Regions from separate parts of the Homo sapiens genome. Here region 2 is linked to region 1. Evidence: promoter capture Hi-C in 16 types of primary human blood cells and fetal thymus (Javierre and others, 2016). All regions are on one chromosome and are shown on one strand. Each heading gives the region's core, a stretch centred on a gene start or on the middle of the fragment in contact. The rest is flanking DNA. Distances are from core to core; before and after follow the strand shown.

Evidence for each region. Contacts are between HindIII fragments. The CHiCAGO score rates a contact against its expected background, and 5 or more counts as called.
Region 2: a contact is called between a fragment that was not itself captured here and the fragment with the promoter of IRAK3 in region 1, in 2 of 17 cell types (M0 macrophages and total B cells). The highest score is 5.3, in M0 macrophages.

The regions. Positions count from the first base shown.
Region 1 is chr12:66,186,349-66,190,708 of GRCh38, forward strand. IRAK3 (interleukin 1 receptor associated kinase 3) reads left to right here and starts at 2,866. Exons shown (of 12, transcript NM_007199.3): 1 at 2,866-3,084. The coding sequence starts at 2,952. RefSeq lists silencers at 2,971-3,020, 3,041-3,200. The HindIII fragment of the contact is 2,960 bases long and covers 2,530-4,360 here.
Region 2 is chr12:66,694,725-66,699,084 of GRCh38, forward strand. It overlaps a transcript of GRIP1 not described here. Among named protein-coding and RNA genes, the nearest start is that of GRIP1, 18 kb to the left of the region's middle. The HindIII fragment of the contact is 1,333 bases long and covers 1,294-2,626 here.

The DNA.
Region 1 (4,360 bases), core at 1,616-4,115:
GGCCAGGGCATTGGAAAGATCACCATCTATTCTACATATATATATATATATATGTGTGTGTGTGTGTGTGTGTGTGTGTATGTTTTAATTTTGTTTCATCAACTTTTATTTTAAGTTCTAGGGTACATGTGCAGGATGTGCAGTTTGTTACATAGGTAAATATGTGCCATTGTGGTTTGCTGCACAGATGATCCCACCACCTAGGTATTAAGCCCAGCATCTATTAGCTATTGCTTCTGATTCACTGCCTCCCCCTACCCCCTCCCCTGACAGGCCCCAGTATGCATTGTTCCCCACCAAGTGTCCATGTGTTCTCATGGTTCAGCTCCCACTTATAAGTGAGAACATGCAGTATTTGATTTTCTGTTCCTGTGTTAGTTTGCTGAGGATAATGGCCTCCAGCTCTATCCCTATCCCTGCAAAGGACATGATCTCATTCCTTTTTATGGCTGCATAGTATTCCATGGTGTATACATACCACGTTTTCTTTATCCAGTCTATCATTGATGGGCATTTGGCTTGATTCCATGTCTTTGCTATTGTGAATAGTTATTCTACATATATTTTAAATCACTGAGAACTAAGATAGGATTAGTACTGGAGAGAGCAACAATGAGCCAGGAGCTAGAGAGTCTAAAAACGAGGAGAAGGAATTGGAGTCGGGGAGATCAGCAGTTGATAGCAACCATGATGATACAACCTGATGATATAAAAATCAAAACTCAAGACAGTTTTAGGAATAGGAAGGCAACATGGTCTGAGAACGACTGCCAACACTGAAAATACAGGAAATTTCACATACTCTAGCTTTCACTTAGGATCCTTGCTTCTTGGTAAATTACAAGATCTGGTAAAGCAGGCCTTTCTGATTGCTTCCCTCATCTGCAGTGATTTCCTGTTTCCTCTGAGTGAGTTTGCCTCCCTGTAGTAGCAATTCAAAAGCTACCAAATAATTAATGGCCTTTTGCCTCTGTTGCTCAGCATGTTCAGGTAGTCCCTTTAAGAGATGTATAGAGGGCCGGGTGTGGTGGCTCATGCCTGTAATCCCAGAACCTTGGGAGGCCTAGGGAGGTGGATCACTTGAGCCCAGGAGTTTGAGACCAGATTGAGCAACATGGGAAAACCCCGTCTCTACAAAAACTACAAAGGTTAGCCAGGCATGGTGGCATGCACCTGTAGTCCCAGCTGTACTGGAGGCTGAGGTGGGAGGATGGCTTGAGCCCAGGGGGTGGAAGTTGCAGTGAGCCGAGATCGCACCATTGCACCCCAACCTGGGCAATCAGAGCGACTAAAAAAAACAAATAAGAAAGAAAGGAGGGAAGGAAGGAAGAAAGGAGGGAAGGAAGGAAGGAAGGAAGGAAGGTAGGTAGGTGTACAGTGTGTACAGATTGACAATAAAACCTTGAACAACGGGATATCGAAATTCTTGCCCACACAGTATGGGCTTTGCCAGTTTTCAGATACATTTTTATGAAGTATTTTCGCTGGCAAAACCATTCAGGTAGGGGCATGAAATGATAGTGTTTCATCACTCGTGATCTCTAGGGGCAGCTATTCCAAAGACTACAATCTGAGAGGTTTCAAAACACCTCTGGTGTTTTCACTTGATGGCCACTGCCCACTCTTCCAGTCACTAAGGCTGAGATTTTTCTCACCACTTTCAAAACAACTTTTTGTCACTGGTAACATGCCTCATGTGACCTAGAAGATTTTGAAACAACAATTTTACTTAAACTCCGTGAAGATTTCAAAACAACAATTTTACTTAAACTCCATGTTGAAGGCAAAAAGGAAGATTGTGTGAAGCACTTTGAGGAAGGAAAAAATGATGGAACGATATTTCATCAAGGAAGCCCATGAGGAAGAAAATTTATTAAAACCAAGTAGGTGTATGGAGGAGAGGCCGCCTCGTGAAGAAAACGAACATAATTTTACGCTGATTTGGTGTCTTTTCTGTTTTTCTCTTGTTGGTATCTACATTCATCTTTTCCAATAATAATCCCATATATGTACATTTTTATCTGTTTAAATTCAGTAAAAGTTGGGAGGAAAATGTGTCAAAACTTTTAGAGTGTGATGGGCTGAGTGGGGTTGTGAGTGATTATCTTCTTTTTTCAGTTTTTTTCTGGGTTTTCCAAGTGTTCCTCGATGAACATGGATAGTTTTTCTGACAGGATAAAAAAGAAGTAGTCCGGGACAGTGGCTAACACCCCGAATCCCAGCACTTTGGGAAGCCGGAGGTGGGAGGATCGCTTGAGGCCAGGAGTTTGAAACCAGCCTGGGCAGCATAACGACACTCCCTCTCTACGAAAAACGAAAAAAAATAATTAGCCGGACGTGGTGGCGTGCGACTGTGGTCCCAGCTACTCGGGAGGCTGAGGTGGGAGGATCGCTTGAGCCCAATAGGTGGAGGCTCCGTGAGCTGAGATAGCGCCACTGCGCTCCTGCCTGGGCGACAGAGTGAGAACCTGACTCAAAACAAAGAAAAAAGGAAGAAAAGAAAGGAAGGGAAGAAGGAAGGAAGGGAGAAGCTTTCAAAAATAAACTTTTGTAAGAAGTAATGACACCGCTAGCCGTCCACACCAGGAGACCGCCTAGCCGTGGGGCACGGTGGGCTCCTGGGAGCTCTGAGCTCTGGGCTTTCTCCAGTTCGCACTCTGCTTGTCTCGGCAGCTCCGTCCCCACCGCAGAGGTGTGAAGGGGCGCAAAGCCAGCGAAGGGAGAACCCGGGTCGGGTAACCCCCAGGCCTGGCCAGGCGGACGCAGGGGCATCTCGGGCGAGGCGCGCCTTGCGTCACGTGGGCACCGCCCCTGCAGTGACCGGAGAACGGCGTGTTCCTAGGGCTCTGCTGCCGTCGTGGAAGCAGGATTTCCGCGGTTGTGTAACGGCCTGTCGCAGGCGTGCAGGGACCTGGACTCCGCCTCGTCCCCGGGGCTCGGGCAGCCGAGCCATGGCGGGGAACTGTGGGGCCCGCGGCGCGCTGTCGGCGCACACGCTGCTGTTCGACCTGCCGCCCGCGCTGCTCGGAGAGCTCTGCGCTGTTCTGGACAGCTGCGACGGCGCGCTGGGCTGGCGCGGCCTGGGTGAGTCGGCGGGGACCGGCCGGGGGCGGCGGGGGAGCCCAGCGCGCCGCGGGGCCCGCTCGGCGTCGCCCTGCATGGCTGGGGTCCCTCGCGGGGCTGGCGCGGCCTCCGGGAAGTTCCCGCCAGGGAGCCGGCCCCCTCCTTTCCTGGGTTGGATGCAGAGACTCCCTGGGACCCAGATGCCTTCCCTCCCTTCTCTTTCAAAGAATTTTGGGTATCGCTGCAAAGTCAAGGGAGCCGAGGCCTGGGAAAGACAGATAACCAGCGTGAAAGCATCTTCTGTTCGTCCGCGATGCCACCCTCACTGGGTTCGCAATGTATGATGTCTTCTGGTCCTTGCAAAATCACCCCAGAACATCATTTTAGTATTGAGACATTTTTAGAACTTTGAGATACTTATCCTTTGGTGTTTTCAATGCATCCCTAAGCCCCTAACTTAATTACAAGTGAAATGCTAAAGTAAACTACGGTTTGCAATGAACGCGGCTCCTAATTTTCTTAATTAAATCTTATTTACCCAATTTCGTTGAATGAAGGTTTATGCTAAAGGGTGGCTTTTTATTTTAATCTAAAAAAATTGGCTTCAGAACTGTATTTTATGCAGACATTGGAAAGTTGAGCAACTGCCTGCTGGAAGTGTTGAGTGTAGCCAGAGATAATTCGGACAAAAATCTTCGTTTTGTTAAGTACAGGCATTTTTGGTTAGATTTGATATTCCACAATGTCATGTTTAATGTTTATTGAAAAGAATCATGATTATGTCAAAATAACTTAGCTTTAATGGTCTGAAATAGGATTTTTCTTACCAGGACTAGCAGAAGGCCTAAGAGGAGAGTTTTCTTTGTTACTGATGAACAGTATGGTGACAGTCTTTGAATTGTAGCAATGGGCTTCTGGTTATACAAAAAATGTTTATATATTTTAAGCTCTGTAATTTTAAGTTATGGCCCTTAAGAAAAAAAAAAAAGTCTGATTTCTAGAAAACGAGATTTCCAGTGTGCATTTGAGGGATTTTGAGGGATAAGGTCACTTCCCCATCAGATCTTTTTGAGATGGATTTTGGCGTGGACAGTATTTATACCCGTTGATTTCCTAGAGTTACTGACTTTGAGAAAGAAAAGTGTTTTTAGTCCAGTTTAATGTTGGTGAATGGGGCCAGGTGGGTGTGGTAAATTAGTGAGGCAGATTATTCTCTCTCTTTCTGTTGATAGCATTGAAATCCAGATATTCATGCTTTACATGGCTTGTCTCATATAACTTCTCCAATTACTCTGTG
Region 2 (4,360 bases), core at 710-3,209, 510 kb after region 1:
GTCACCTAGTACACTGACATCCTGGTTTTCTAAGTATAAAATTATAAGTCATTACTATTCCTGAGATGCTTCCATATCCCAGGGAATAGATGCTGGTAACCAGTTCCCGGATTACCACAGTAGACATCCCAAAGATCAGGAAATACCCAGAGCCTAAGGGCAGAGCTAGTTGCAGGCTGAGGGTATGGCTAAGTGAGATCTCCTTTTGTGTCTTATCTGAGGTCCAACATCTCTCTGAAGCACTAAAGTCTTACTGATAACTGTTGTTGTTATAATTTCATAAAACAAAGGCAAATCTTTTTAAAATAAGGAAGAAAGCTTTTTATTCCCACTTCCAAATCATCTGTCTCTAACCAAGTCATAAAGACCATCAGGCTGCCAGTGCAGTACGATGTGTTAGATGTTCAACAGGAGTTCCTAGAACAGGCTCTACCTCCTCTGGGTGGAGAAGTGGGGCTGACCATGTGTGAGGAGGAGCCTTGCTCATAGGGGGAAGACACTTTTCTCAAAGCACTCCTCAACTGCTGACCCAGCATGCAATCTAACCTGTTTTTTTTTTTTTTATGGCATCTGTTTACACAAATTCTGACCAGGTGGCAAATTCTTCCCCTCTCCTGTCAGCCACAGTATGCTGGACAGAGAACACCTGTTCCAGAAGTGGACTGATTAGCCCAAGGTTGGGATACACAGCACGAGCTATGGGCCACACGAGAGGAGGAGATCCTGTGACTTGTCGGTGGTTGGCTCCACTCCTCCTCTTGGCCCTAGTCCATGTCTACCACTAATGGGATTGATCCATGGGCATAAATCTGAAAGCCCTTGCTAGGCAGGTAGGAGGTTATCTTATCCAAAACTGCTACAGTGTTGTTGCTAGCTGAAAGCAAATGTTTCAAGCACTGGGGAGGGAACTAGAGGTACAAAATTGAGGTTGATAATCTTCGTTTTTAAGGAGCTTCTTGGGGAGGGCATTGGTGAAGGTGATAGAATGGAATAAAAATATCACTTAATGAATATCTTTTCTGCAATGTCATTTACATATGCAGGGTATCTTTAAACAAGTAACAATAATTCAGTGGAATATCAGCTTTATTGATACTATCAGTAGGATGTGTGGATGCAAAAGGGAGAAAACAAATTAGTGAGAAGAATGGATAAATGAGGCAGTAGGAAAGGTTCACAGAGGAGGTGGGACTGGAGGTGGATTGTGAAGGATAACTAAGAGTCTGTCCATGGTGGAGCAGGCAAATATTCCAGGAGAAGAAAGAACTGGTAGCATGGGGCAAATGGGAATGAAGCTTGAAAGAAAACGGAAAAACTAAATGAAGAGGGGAAGAGAGAATCAAATCACAATATAGGCATAAAATGGAATAAGCTAATGATTAGCAAAATTACTATTATCTCAAAACCCCATTTTTTTTTTAAAGGACAACTCATAACACTTACCAGCTGTGCCACTCTTTAGGGTACTTTCACATCTCAAGAATGGTCCTTTGACCCAGTAGACATACAGAAACACAAGTCAACCTATTCATTTCTCTCAATCTACAGAAAACTCTAGCTCTGCAAGCTCCTTGTCATTTGAAGAATTTGATTCCTGATGAGTAAGTTGCTAGCCTAAAGAAAAATACCAATCTAAACATTATTAAGGACAGTGTAACAAAGAAGACATTCTACAAATTCTTTATTCCTGATAGTCATAAAGAGGCTACAAAGAGAATGAGTTAGAGAAAGGTGGAACATACTCAGCATGAAAAAGAAATTTTAAAAAGAATTATGGTTAGGCCAGGCGTGGTGGCTCTCGTCTGTAATCCCAGCACTTTGGGAGGCCGAGGCGGGCGGATCACAAGGTCAGGAGATCGAGACCATTCTGGCCAACACAGACCCCGTCTCTACTAAAAAAAACAAAAAACAAAAAACAAACAAACAAACAATTAGCTGGGCATGGTGGCGGGCACCTGTAGTCCCAGCTACTTGGGAGGCTGAGGCAGGAGAATGGCGTGAACCCGGGAGGCAGAGCTTGCAGTAAGCTGAGATCGCACCACTGCACTCCAGCCTGGGTGACAGAGCAAGACTCTGTCTCAAAAAAAAAAAAAAAAAAAAAAAAAAAAGAATTACTGTTATAGATTTTGTGATCCAAGAGGGATGTTAGGCAGCCTGCACCTAATAGAATTTGGTAGATGCAAAAAAAGTTGCTTGTTGAATAAATGACTGAATGTTCTACTTCAGTGGTTTATAAACTGTGCTTCCCAGAGGTGGTTCTGGGTTCTGTAAAGCACAAAGTAACTTCTGTACAACAGTGAAGTTTCAAACTACTCTGAAGACAAGTGTGATCCCAGTGCCTGACATATAGCAGGTGCTTTATAAACATTTGGTAGTGAATGAATGAAGGAACAAGCAAATGTATTAATGGATAGAGGAATGGAATAGTTTGAACTTTAACAACCATGAACAAAAGGACTAAAATCTAAAGGGAAAAAAGACCAATTTTCCTTCTCTCCTGACCTATCTCAAACTCCATCCTTGCTGTAACTTATTTCCTTTTGCATCAAGGGAAATATAAAAATGACAATGACCTTTCCCTCACATCAGAGAGAGGTGGAAAGAATAAATATGTTAATATGTGCAAAGCTTCCAGACTTCCTTAGAGAGAGCCACTACAGGTATTAATTTAATTATTATGAGCTTCTTGCAGAAACACAGCTGTTACACCTTTAAACAAACCATTTTTGATAATATTTCAGTTATCTTCAAACAGAAGGCAGAATGGGCTAGATAACCATAGGGAAATGGCCGACAACACAAATGCACCTGGCCCTCAGCTCCAGACTCACTTGGGGCTCAATTTGGGGCAGTCACACATTTGAGACTACTTTTTAAGATACTTTTGGTTTTGTGGTGAAGGGCTGAGAAGCGTGCTAACTGGCTGCACTGAGCTGAGTCAGGCACAGGGATGAAACTGATGCCTCTTTCTCTGTCCATAGACAGCTCCAAATCTGAACTAAATTCCAGGAGAGAAGGTGTAAGGAAGTGAAAAGCAACAGATTCGAAAGTATTTTTAGTGGGTTACTCTCTTTGTAGGAAGTTCTGGCCTTATTCAAACTATGTTTCTCATGTCTATATATTAGACAAATGGCTCTAATCAGCAAATGCAAATCAAGACCCCCTCAACAAAGCGAAGTGCAACAAGAATAAAAGCTTATTGATCCTCTTGTTATCGATCTGGACCATATATCTAGATTTCTCTGTATTCTACAACTAGAAAAAATCTTCAGTATGCAGTATTAAATACAGAAAAGAATTACGGTTACAGTATTTGTGATCCTATATTTGTAGAAAGCAATATGCTTTCTACAATATTTACAACAATCAGAGATTAGGAGCTTGAAAAAGAATGGAGCACATTGCTAAATGAGACTTGTGCCACCAGATATGGAGGTTCATGAGATTTGTCTCAAAATTCTTCTCTTCAATCAATATGTATCTAGACTTGAACATGCACTGAAAAGAATTAACATGTCAAAAATGTAACCAGGAGTGAACAAAGTAACTAAGATCACAATTAATTGTACTTAATTTAGAAAGAAAGTGTTTTTTACCTGTCAACTATGGGGAAACATCACTTTTTAGTATCAGGACGCCTTGTGTTTTTAAAAAATATTTGTTGAAGAGTAAAAGCTGTACCTGTGCCTTATTTTCATTTGCACACAGGATGTAAACACTTGAAAGTTCCACCATGAACCCACATTCTACACACGCAAGGCAGAACTTCACAAATGCTTCCCAGGACAGCTCTTTTTCAACTATTTCCTATTTGTCAGTTTGGCCACCAACCCGCAAGTCTCCTAGGCTAGAAATCTCGGCAGAGTTATTTTCTCTTTTCTTGCCTTCCTCCTTCCCTGTTTCTTGTTTGTTCGGTGAAGATAATAATAGTCTGGCCCCCCACCTCCTTTGTTGGCTCTAGGGTGGTCCTCCCACCCCATCCCCTCCAGAGGTTAATATGAATCTACCTATCGTATCTAGCTGCTCTGGAAGCCCAGTAGGTGGAAGCACCACTCAAGTCCTCTACCAATGTTACCATAACAAACTTGGTTATTTCTTTCTTTGACTTTTTAAAGCACAGTTTCTGGAGTAAGAAAAACTGTTCCTACTGTATGATTGTGGGCAAACTCATATTTTCATAAGTGGGGAAAACAGCAGCCTCTACCCTTGCAGCGTTGTTGGGAGGCTTAAGTGAAGTTCTCAGTCATGCAGCAGGCTCAGTAAATGCCAGCTGTTGCTACCATTACTATCATCTCCTGTCTATTCTCTTCTCACATCATCCAGCCCTCATCCACACCCACTTCACACTAGGTTACCACAT